Regions from separate parts of the Homo sapiens genome. Here region 2 is linked to region 1. Evidence: promoter capture Hi-C in human tissues and cell types (Jung and others, 2019). All regions are on one chromosome and are shown on one strand. The core of a region is centred on a gene start or on the middle of the fragment in contact, and the rest is flanking DNA. Distances in the headings are between cores, read along the strand shown. Region 1 holds the start of LONP1 (lon peptidase 1, mitochondrial). Region 2 has its middle 13 kb from the start of MLLT1.

Region 1 (6,054 bases), core at 1,973-4,472:
GCTGGGACTACGGGCGCCCACCACCACTCCAGGCTAATTTTTTTGTATTTTTAGTAGAGACGGGGTTTCACCTTGTTAGCCAGTATGGTCTCGATCTCCTGACCTCGTGATCCGCCCACCTCAGCCTCCCAAAGTGCTGGGATTGCAGGCGTGAGCCACCGCGCCCAGCCCACGAAGTTAGTTTTTAAAAGAAACTAATACTTCTAACACTTATGATTTATTCTTTAATACCCACCAAAAATTAAGAGCCATTGTTCCTTACTCAAAAGTTGCTAATAGGAGAGAAGCTTCTAGAGCAAGTTGGCCAGACAAGTCAAGTACAAACTGAAGAGTAAATCAAGCTTTGCTAACAATTTCAGAAACATTTATTGGGTCCCAAAGAAGTTGCCTCCCAATTTCCCCTCTGCCAACAGCTGATAGCTGCATCCTTGGCATCTGCCTCCTGGCCTTGGCAGGATCCATTTTTATGATTTACAATGCATCATCAACCAGAAATACAATGAGAACCACCTGCCAGTCTCCCAAATACTATCTGCAGCCACTCATTTAACTCTCCTGGCTAGCTCCACGTGGGCCGTCTGAACTCTCTTAGAAGAATCATCTCTCTGCTCAGGCACCGGGAGCAAGGGGCATCTGTCGCTCTGCAGAACGGAGGGGACCAGGCCTGATGAACACCATCCTGGGCCCAGAAACCTGGGAGGGTAAAGAGAACTGCCAGGGGTGAAGTCAAGGATGGGAAAAAGGCCTCCGGGGCAGAGTCCTGAAATGTCAGAAGTACACCAAAGAGGAAACAGCATCACGTTATTGCTGAGGCAGGGCCTCATTCTGTTGCCCAGGCTGCAGTGCAGTGGTGACACCATGGCTCACTGCAGCCTTGATCTCCCAGTTTCAAGTGATCCTCCTGCCTCAGCCTTCCAAGTAGCTGGGAAGACAGGTGCATGCCACTGTGCCCGGCTTTTCTTTCTTTCTTTTTTTTTTTTTTTTTGTAGAGACAGGGTCTATGTTGACCATACTGGTTTCAAATTATGCTCCTGCCTCAGCCTCCCAAAGTGCTGGGATTAAACATGTGAGACACCGTGCCCAGCCCACATGGCCTCATTTAAATCCCACAACAACTCTAATAAGACACTAATATGTCCAGGTCACAGATGAGAAGAGGGAAGCCAAAGGAATAACTTGCTGAAGGTTATGGAGCTAGGATAGGACCCCACAAGGTCTTGCTCTGGGGGCCTGCATCAGTAACCAGTACTCAACATCAAGGAAAGGCCTTGGGGCCGGGCGCAGTGACTCGCACCTGCAATCCCAGCACTTTGGGAGGCTGAGGCGGGTGAATCACTTGAGGTCAGGAGTTCGAGACGAGCGTGGGCAACATGGTGAAACCCTGTCTCTTCTAAAAATAGAAAAATTAGCCAGCCACGGTGGCGGGCGCCTGTAATCCCAGCTACTCAGGGGGCTGAGGCAGGAGAATCACTTGAACCCGGGAGGCAGAGGTTGCAGTGAGCTGAAATCGCGCCACTGCACTTTAGCCTAGATGACAGAGTGCAACTTGGTCTCAAAAAAAAAAAAAAAAAAATCTTGGAGCAGCGTTGGAGAAGCTCCCTCTGTCCCCTCTCTACTGGCTGCTGCCCCTCTGAAATGGCCTTTCCCTTCCCAACAGATCCTTGAGATTTGTTTAGAAGAGTCTGGAGAGTGAGCGCAGAGGCTGACTCACTGCGTGACCTTGCTCTGCCAGTTAGGAGATAACCTTCCCATAGATGCCACTTTCCACATCAGTAGTTTTTTTTTTTAAGGGAAGGGGAGCTGGGGGAGAAGGCTTTTGGGGCCTTCCTACTGTAAAAGCTCAAGTTCCTTACACTCACTGCTTTCTCTCTATTACATCATCCTGCTCCCTCCCCACCCCCAAGGCTCTTAGTCTGAAATGATCTAATTTCTACCACCGGAATGACTTGTTCTCTACAGTATTCTCAGAACTTGCTACGTGGTAGGAGGTCAAGAACACACTGAATAACCCACCTCTTCCCACCCTCCTAAGCCTCCTGTCCCATCCATGCTCTACTATTTCTCGTAATTATTGCCTTCTAATACAATATCGTTACTAAACATCTTTATTGCCTGTCTCATCCTGCCAAAATGTAAGCTCCAAGGCAGATTTATTTTTTAAGAGACAGGGTCTCGCCATGTTGACCAGGCTGGACTCCAGGTTTCCAACAATCCTTCCACCTCAGCCGCCAGAGTAGCTGGGAGTACAGCGCGCGCCACCATGCCCAGCTTCAAAGGCAGAAATTTTTGTCTGTTTTGTTCACTGCCATATCCCCAGAACCTAGAACACTCTCTGGCAAATAATAAGCAATCAAGAAGTATTTGTCTAAGAAAGGAATGAATTCTGATCCCAGTGAGGCTCGTAACCAGACGGCAGAGCGCCTGGGGCGAGGAGGTATTACAAAACTCGTGCCAAGTAAGGAGAAAACTAACAGCGCCGTAACACTACTCAGGTCCCTCCCGGCCCCGGATTTCTATGACCGGCGTTCTAAAGTGGATAATCCTAGGCTCATCGGGTTCAACTCCTCTCATCTAACGGATCCTAAGAAATCCGAAAGGGAGAGGACTTTGGCTCAAGGTTCCCAAGCTAGTGGTGAGCAGACAAGGATTCGAACTGCACCCTTCGAGAAACTTCATGTCTGAAAAAGTTGCGAAACACAAGGGCGCTCAAGTGATCCCACGGTTCAGCCCGCTGCTTGCACAGGTGGGAAACCTGAGGCCGAGGCGGGGACTCCCATTACCTCGATAATCTTGATAAAGCGCGGGAACACCGGGTTGCGGGTGATGGCGATGAGCGGCAGGTGCGGAAACACATCGGGGATCGTCATGGGCGTGAGCGCCGTTATGACCGGGCCTTCCCCGGCGCCCGCGCTGCCCCCCGCGCCGCCGGCTCCTTCCTCCGCGCCGCCCTCGGAGGCGTCCTCGCCCCCCGAGAATGCGCCTCCGCCGCGGCTGCTCGCTTCCCAAAACCCCCGCCATTGGCCCCCAATTGCCGGGCCTCGGCCCCACAGTGCCCAAGGAGGAGAGGCGTCGCAGGTCCGCTGGCCTCGGAGCAACCACGCTCCTGCTGCAGTGGGAACCCGCCCCCCGGCGGCGGCCAGCATCGGCCGCCGCAGCACCCAGCACCGCGCCGCTCCCCACAGTCGCACGTAGCCAGTGCTCGCCGCCATAGCCCGGCCATACTGGCGGCTCACACAACTCGCGTCATTTCCGCTCGCCGCGAAACGCACGTGACGCCCGGCGCGTGCCTCGGTACCCGATGGGCGCGTGGCTCGAAACAGCCGCTTCAGGGAGCTGGGCCTACGCGGAGAAGAGGGGGCGGAGTTCGAGCATCGGATCGTCTCCGCCTCTTCCGGTCTCCCACTTTATGCGCTGAAGGCCTTTTCCGGTCACGTGGAAGGCTGTGAGCAGGCGCCAGCGCCCGTACAAAACACTGGTAGTGTTGCAAACGCAACGTTTAGGAACTCATGAGCAGCCTGTGCACATGCTTAGGCGCGCGGACAACATGCGCATGCTCAGACTCTAGACTGGCCACGGGTGGCCGGGTGCGCATACTCAGGCTCTGAGCGCACTTTGGGGTGCGCGGATTCGGGCTTCCCGGGATTCGTCTGCGCATGCTCAAGATTCAGGCGGAGCGCCGGGCTGCAGTGCGCGGAGGCCCGCTCCCGGGACTCATTGATGCGCATGCGCAGGGCTTCAGCCTGCACGTACTCGGATTGTGCAGCGACTCCCCGTGGCGGTTGAGGGGCAGTGGTGGCGGCGGAAGCCCAAGTCGATGCTGATGTTGATGCTGGTGGCGGCTGTGACCATGTGGCTCCGACCGCTGGTCACAGCTCAGCTCTGTCGGTGGGGCTGCCAGGACTCCTGGGGCTGGGGTGCTGCCGGGGGTCGGGAGGGTGCTGGTTCATCTTGGAGCCGAGGCCTGCTCCCCAACCTCACTGAGGCTCCCCTTTTACTCTTTTTAGGAATCGAACTTGACGCCTCGCTCACCCTACTCCACCCCATCCTCCCAGCCCGATATTAAGCTCTCCTACCTCTTTTTTTTTTTTTTTTTGAGACGGAGTCTCGCTCTGTCGCCCAGGCTGCAGTGCAGTGGCGCGATCTCGGCTCACTGCAAGCTCCGCCTCCCGGATTCACGCCATTCTCCTGCCTCAGCCTCCTGAGTAGCTGGGACTACAGGCGCCTGCCACCACGCCCGGCTAATTTTTTTTTGTATTTTTAGTAAAGACGGGGGTTTCACCGTATTAGCCAGGATGGTCCCGATCTCCTGACCTCGTGACCCGCCTGCCTCGGCCTCCCAAAGTGCTGGGATTACAGGCGTGAGCCACCACGCCGGGCCTAGCCCTCCCACTTCTTTTTCTTTTTGGAGCCGGAGTTTTTGCTCTGTTTCCCAGGGTGGAGTGCAGTGGCGCGATCTCTGCTCACTGCAACCCCCGCCTCCCAAAGTGCTGGGATTGCAGGCGTGAGCCACCGCGCCCAGCCTTACCCAGCACATTTTGAAATTTCAGTAAATGTTAGGTTAGTGCATACTCCAACCTGCCATGGGGACCAGTTGCTGAAACTCCGTTCCTGCCCTCAGGGAACTCCCATCTGGACTAAACTGTCACATTCAGTAGGGACCTGTGAGCTGTATTCTTAGGGTGTATGGCCTCATTTGATGTTTACAGGAAGATTCATAATGATTCCTTAACCTTATTTTATTTTATTTATTATTATTTTTTGTACAGATGGGGTCTCACTGGCTGGGTGCAGTGGCTCACGCCTGTAATCCCAACACTTTGAGAGGTAGAGGTGGGCAGATCACTCACTTGAGGTCAAGAGTTCCAGACCAGCCTGGCCAACATGATGAAACCTCGTCTCTACTAAAAATACAAAAATTAGCCAGGCTTGGTGGCAGGTGCCTGTAATCCCAGCTACTTGGGAGGCTGAGGCAGAAAAATCGCTTGAATTCAGGAGGTGGAGGTTGCAGTGAGCTGAGATCGCACTCCAGCCTGGGTGACAAAGGGAGACTCTGTCTCAAAGGAAAAAAAAAAAAAAAGAGATGGGGTCTCACTGTTTTGCCCAGGCTGGTCTTGAACTCCTAGGCTCCAGTGATCCTCCTGCCTCAGCCTCCCAAAGTGTTGGGATTACAGGCATGAGCCACCCATGCCCAGCCATACCCTTATTTTATTTTTTTGAGATGGAGTCTTGTTCTCGTCGCCCAGGCTGGAGTACAATGTCACGGTCTCGGCTCACTGCAACCTCCGCCTCCCAAGTTCAAGCAATTCTCCTGCCTCAGCCTCCAGAGTAGTTGGGATTATGGGCGCCTGCCACCACGTGCAGCTAATTTTTTGTGTTTTTAGTAGAGACAGGGTTCCACCATGTTGCCCAGGTTGGTCTCGAACTCCTGACCTCGTGATTCACTTGCCTCGGCCTCCCAACGTGCTGGGCTTACAGGCGTGTGCCACCGCGCCCGGCCAACACCCTTATTTTATAGATACGAAAGCATACTTAGGAAAGTTAAAGACACACTTGCCTAACAACACATACCTAGTAAGTGGGAGAAACATTTTCCAGTGAAATTTACTAATAGGATTTGTCTCGAGTTCTGAAAATGTGGGTTATATCCAGTTCTCTCATTTCCCCACACAGGCTCTCAAAGAATGGTCCCTGGACCAGCAGCATCAAGATCACCTGGAATTTATTATAATTGGTTAGAAATGCAGTTCCCTGGACCTACTGAGTCGGGGACTTGGCAGTGGGACCCAGCAAACGGTGGTTTATCAAGACCCCCCCCCCCGCAACCCCGGTGATTCTGATGCATATTCAAGATTGAGCACCTCTGCTGTAAACTATACCATCCTTCCAGTCACCACACACTCCCTTAAGGAGCCCCGAATACCTTGTTGCAGGACTTCATAATTTTCCTCAGCTGGGGTCTGTGAAGGAGCCTTTAGAAATTCTTGGCCGGGCGCGGGGGCTCACGCCTGTAATCCCAGCACTTTGGGAGGTGGAGGCGGGCGGATCACGAGGTCA
Region 2 (6,054 bases), core at 904-3,403, 570 kb after region 1:
TATATTTTTAGTAGACATGGGGTTTTACCATATTGGCCAGGCTGGTCTCAAACTCTTGACCTCAAGTGATCTGCCCACCTTGGTATCCCAAAGTGCTGGAATTACAGCCATGAGCTGCACCCGGCTTCATGTTACTTTTGAATCAAACCCTGACCACCACTGAAAAGCAGGCCACCCTGAAAGTGGCACAGAATTTTGGGGATGAGCTTTATATCTTATATAGGGCCAGGGAAGGGGATGAGACTTATCTGATTGGAAGAATAGCAGTACCACTGAAGAACCCTAAATGGGACCTCAATGATGAGACAAAAGAATGGGGCCAGGCGTGGTGGCTCACACCTGTAATCCCAGAACTTTGGGAGGCTGAGATGGGCGGATCATGAAGTCAGGAGATCAAGACCATCTTGCCCAACATGGTGAAACCCCATCTCTACTAAAATACAAAAAAAATAGCCAGGCATGGTGGTGCACACCTGTAGTCCCAGCTACTTGGGAGGCTGAGGCAGGGAATCACTTGAGCCTGGGAGGCAGAGATTGCAGTGAGCTGAGATCATGCCACTGCACTCCAGCCTGATGACAGAGCAAGACTCTGTCTCAAAAAAAAAAAAAAAAAAGAAAATGGAAAAGGAGGCCAGGCACGGTGGCTCACACCTGTAATCCCAGCACTTTGGAAGGCCGAGGTGGGCAGATCACGAGGTCGGGAGTTCTAGACCAGCCTGACCAACATGGTGAAACCCCATCTCTACTAAAAATACAAAAATGAATTAGCCAGATGTGGTGGCACATGCCTGTAATCCCAGCTACTCAGGAGGCTGAGGCAGGAGAATAACTTGAACTTGGGAGGTGGAGGTTGCAGTGAGCCGAGATCATGCCACTGCACTCCAGCCTCGGCGACAGAGCAAGACACCATCTCAAAAAAAAAAAAAAGAATGGAAGAGGAAACACTTTCAGGTGTGCATACCAGAGGGCATACGAAGGACTAGGACAAAGCCTCTCAATTACACTAAGCTATCCATGGTAGACAGGGATTAAGCGTGAGTCCCACTGCCTTCCTGGAAAGGCTAAGAGAGGCCTTGGTAAAACACACCTAAGTCCTGATTGAGGAGAGGGACATCTGATCCTAGAGGATGAGTTTATGACACAGTCAGGCCCTGATGTCAGGAGGGAGCTTCAGAAACAGGCTGCAGGGCCAGATGGTACTTTGGAGGGCCTCCTGGGAGTGGTCACCTTAGACTTTGCTGTGGGAACTTGGAGGAAGTCCAGAAAAGAGAGAGGAGATACGGAAAAAAAGGCAAAAGCTCTAATACCTGCCCTGAAGCTTCACGGACTCCATAGTCCCTGAGATGCACCCGTTGTCTGCTGCAAATGTGGCAGGCCAGGCCACTTCAGGAGAGACTGTCTGGGCAGTGCGGGGAGGCCACCTCAACCCTGTCTGGTTTGCAGTGGGAACCATTGTAGGGGCAGCCTGTCCCTGGAGACACAGGTTGCCGGGTCCAGGACCAGACTTCCAGATGGTCCAGAAGGACAGATGGATTCTAGGGCTCCTTTCCCAAGCTCTGATGGTTCAGACCACTATTACCATCCAGGAGCCCTGGGTTGAAGGGAGGAAGGTAGCCACCTCCTGGACTCTGGAGCAGGCCTTTCAGTTCTCCTCCCCAACCCAGGCCCCCTTCCTCTCTTAGCACGACTGTAAGCAGCATCTCAGGTCTTCTTCCCCACCACGCCAGGAGTCAACATAGTCTTGTGACTACAGGGAGCTTTTCTCTGTGGGGTTACTTTTGTTTCCGTTAGGGAGTGTATTAGTTCGTTTTCATGTTGCTGATAAAGACATACCCAAGCCTGGGAAGGAAAATAGGTTTAACGGACTCACAGTTCCACATCATGAGGAGATTCTCCAGAGTCTGAGGGTCAAAGGCGTTCCAGTGATTTATTTATTTATTTATTTTTTAAGACAGAGACACGCTCTGTCACCCAGGCTGGAGTACTGTGGCACAATCTCAACTCACTGCAACCTCACAATCATGGCAGAAGGAGAAAGGCACTTCTTACATGGCAGAAGCAAGAGAGAATGAGGAAGAAGTGAAAGCAGAAACCCTTTATGAAACCATCAGATCTCATGAGACTTATTCACTACCATGAGAACAGTATGGGGGAAACCATCCCCATGATTCAATGACCTCCCACTGAGTCTCTCCCACAACATGTGGGAATTATGAGAGTATAATTTAAGATGAGATTTGGGTGGAGACACAGAGCCAAACTGTATCAGGGAGGCACCTTATTAGGTCAGGTCCCCAATTTCTGGGACTCCCTTTCTCTCCCTTGTTTGAGGAGGACCTGGCCTCACGGCTTCACCTGCTTATGATAGAGAGGCAGTAGAGGAGCAGCCCCCTCCAGTTGCTATCTGCAATTTGGCGAGGGCCACATGGGACTAATTTAATGGGTCCATAGACCCATCTGAGTCACCTTTTTTGTCCCAAGCTTCACTTTAAAGTCCTGAAATGGGACATTAGACCTGAGGCAGATGACAGCAGGAGTTGAGAGGCACAGCCCAGGTGAGCATGACTAATTCCTGCCAGTTAGCCCTCCTGCTTCATGGATGGAAGCATAGATAAGGTCTAGGGAACCCAAAGGTTACCAACAGCAGAAGGATAGGGTGGTATGTAGGTAAGTGCGAATATTCCTACCCACTAGGCCTTCCCGCTGCATGGGTGAAGGTTGCACTCGCAGCTATGAGTGGCACCTGCAAAGGTCACTGGGACTCAAGGATATAAGGTTGGAAGAGGAAAAAGAGATGCCTTTTTAAAAAAATCTCCATCACGTACCCCAGGTATTCACTGGAAAGAGAGGAACAAAGGGATGTCTTTCCCCTCTTTCCAGATGGGTAAGCAACCAATCATTTTCAGCCTGCACTCCTCTCAAGTGCATTCTAAATTACTGGAACGCAGCCGGGTGTGGTGGCTCATGCATGTAATCCCAGCACTTTGGGAGGCCAAGGTGGGTGGATGACTTGAGGCCAAGACTTTGAGACCAGCCTGACCAACATGGCAAAACCCCATCTCTACCGAAAATACAAAAAATTAGCTGGGCATGGTGGCACATGTGCCTGTAATCCCAGCTACTTGGGAGGCTGAGGCAGGAGAATCACCTGAACCCAGGAGGCAGAGGTTGCAGTGATCTGAGATTGTGCCACAGTACTCCAGCCTGGGTGACAGAGCATGACTCTGCCAAAAAAAAAAAAAAAAAGAAGAAGAAAAGAAAAAAGACACTGGAACTCCTTTGACCCTCAGACTCTGGAGAAAAAAACATTTTTCCTTTATTCCTCCTCTGTTCTCTCTTCACAGATGGGTAATCACACCTCTGTACCACAGGATACTCCCCTGGGATCCATCCCGCAAACTAGGAAGAGTTTAATTTCCCCAAGCGTTAAACTGCTTGGCAATTTCTTGAGGAGGGACAACTTCTCTTTGGCTGTTCCCCTTCACAGGACTCCAGGGTCAATAGGGCTCCATGGCTCAGGGGAATGGAACCCAGAAGCCTGACATGCTGACAAAAGGGTAAGAGTTTTTAGCAGTTGGACTTCTGGCTTCTCTCTCTCTGTGCAAGCTGGTTGTAGGAATGACAAAAACTGTATTCTCTGCCCCTCCATGAGTTCAAAAGTCAGAAGTATTGGCCATTTGGCATGGCTAAGGTCAGGTAGTAACATATTTTAAAAGATTTCCTTTTTTTTTTTGAGACAGAGTCTTGTTCTATTGGCCAGGCTGGAGTACAGTGGTGCAATCTCAGCTCACTGCAACCTCCGTCTCCCAGGCTCCAGCAATTCTCCTGCCTCAGCCTTCCAAGTAGCTGGGATTACAGGCATGTGCCACCATGCCCGGCTAATTTTTGTAATTTTTAGTGGAGACAGGGTTTCACCATTTGGCCAGACTGGTCTCGAATTCCTAACTGCAGGTGATCCACCTGCCTCAGTCTCCCAAAATGCTGGGATTATAGGCATGAGCCACTGCGCCTGGCCAGGACTTCTTAAAAAGGAAGTGCTATGGTTGGCCAGGTGTGATGGCTTGCACCTGTAATCCCAGCACTTTGGGAGGCCGAGGCGGGCAGATCACAAGGTAAGAAGATCGAGACCATTCTGGCTGACATGGTGAAACACCGTCTCCACTAAAAATACAAAAAAAATTATCCAGGTGTGGTGGTGGACACCTGTAGTCCCAGCTACTCAGGAGGCTGAGGCAAAAGAATGGCATGAACCCATGAGGCGGAGCTTGCAGTGAGCTGATATCAAGCCACTGCACTCCAGCCTGGGCAACAGAGCAAGACTCTGTCTCAAAAAAAAAAAAAAAAAAAAGGAAATGTGATGGTTAAAAGTCAGCTTAATTAAAGATGGAGGATATCCAAACTATAGGTATATTTAAAAGGCCTTTATGTCGTTTATCGTTGTAGATTTTGTTTTTCTGGAAAAAGGTGTTTTCTTTTCGGTCAACTGAACAATTTTTCTCCATTTTTGTCTTGCCACTCTTAATGCACACATGAGGGGTTCCAGGATGACTTCTGGTGGCCTGGGACTCCTTGGGAAAAACAGAGGAGGCGCCACTGATCCGTTTTGGGAAAAACCTCTGTTTTCCTCAGGAACTTCAGGAATTACGGGCAGATGGATCCCTCTCAAAATCTATTTTTGTCTTCCAGCTATGCCTACTTATTAAGCCTTAGAAACTACATGTTTTCCTAGCCCTGGTTCTCGAAGGGCTCCACCCCCCGGCCAGTAATCCAATTAAGAAATTGGCACAAGAGGCTGGGCACGGTGGCTCACACCTGTAATCCAAGCACTTTGGGAGGCCAAGGTGGGAGATTCACCTGAGGCCAGGAGTTCGAGACCAGCCTGGCAGCATAGCAAAACCCCATCTCTACTAAAAATACAAAAACTAGCCAGGTGAGTTGGCGGGCGCCTGTAATCCCAGCTACTTGGGAGGCAGAGGCAGGAAAATCGCTTGAACTCAGGAGGTAAAGGTTGCAGCGAGCCAAGATCATGCCACTTGGACAACAGAGTGAGACTCTACATTCCAGCTTGGACAACAGAGTGAGACTCTGTCTAAAAAAAAAAAAAAAGAAAAAGGAAAAAAGAAAAATCTTACAACTACTAGTGGATCTCCTGTCTGTCATATAGTTATATATGTGTTGTATGTGTGATGTTTATATAAAAGAACTCTAACTGATTAGCTTAAGGAAAAATAAGCACTTAGGTCAAATATTCTTGAAGAAAAATAGAAACTGCAATGCCTTTTAGTTCTCATGACTTAATCTTAGAGAAATAAAAATAGTCTTAAAGATTATTGGTAAAATAAAAATGACTTCAAAATGTAGACATGTGGTCCAAATTATGCAGCTCAGATATTAGGTTTGCTAAATGCTTTAAAGTCATAAACTGCTTCTTTGGCTTTTGAAAACTGTTTGACTTGCCTGCTTTATGGTTTGGTAAGGACTAGGGACATAGGGAGCTAATCACACCCCTAGATATGCTGGAAATATTCAGATCTTATCTGCACCTAGGACATAATTAAAATAACTTACTAGGTTTTCTTTTTTTTTTTTAACTAGGTTTTCTTTTTACCAAAAATAAGAATTGCTAAGAGTTACCATTATAACATGTAATTGAGACTCCTGAAAATAGACTTACATGCAAAGTATATAAGGAAAGTAAACTGTGTCTTTAGTTAAAGAATATAAGAAGGCATGGGAATGTAAATTTTTGCCAAATTTAGAAATTTAAAGGATTGTTTTAAATTAGATAAGATAAAGCTAAGGGTTTAAACAAGTTATAGAAGGTTTGTAAAAATTAATCTTATAAAAGGAATTGTGTGTGTGAATATATTGACTAAATTCTTTTTTTTTTTTTTTTTTTTTTTGAGATCACTATGTCACCCAGGCTGGAGTGCAGTGGCACAATCTTGGCTCACTGCAACCTCCACCTCCCAGGTTCAAGCGATTCTTCTGCCTCAGCCTCCCTAGTAGCTGAGATTACAGGTGCATGCCACCACTCCTGGCTAACTTTTGTAT

Evidence for each region. The method cuts DNA at HindIII sites, captures the fragments that hold promoters and counts their contacts. A contact is called where the count stands out against the background at its distance.
Region 2: a fragment that was not itself captured here is called in contact with the fragment with the promoter of LONP1 in region 1 in 1 of the 25 tissues and cell types used here (dorsolateral prefrontal cortex).

What each region holds. Positions count from the first base shown.
Region 1 is chr19:5,716,924-5,722,977 of GRCh38, forward strand. It overlaps LONP1 (lon peptidase 1, mitochondrial), which reads right to left and starts at 3,223. Exons shown (of 18, transcript NM_004793.4): 1 at 2,781-3,223. The coding sequence starts at 3,209. CATSPERD (catsper channel auxiliary subunit delta) reads left to right here and starts at 3,714. Exons shown (of 22, transcript NM_152784.4): 1 at 3,714-3,885. The coding sequence starts at 3,815. RefSeq lists enhancers at 838-1,354, 1,355-1,870, 2,904-3,420, 3,373-3,472 and silencers at 2,833-2,912, 3,043-3,092. The HindIII fragment of the contact is 49,943 bases long and covers 1-6,054 here.
Region 2 is chr19:6,289,530-6,295,583 of GRCh38, forward strand. No RefSeq gene overlaps it. Among named protein-coding and RNA genes, the nearest start is that of MLLT1, 13 kb to the left of the region's middle. The HindIII fragment of the contact is 5,354 bases long and covers 1-4,830 here.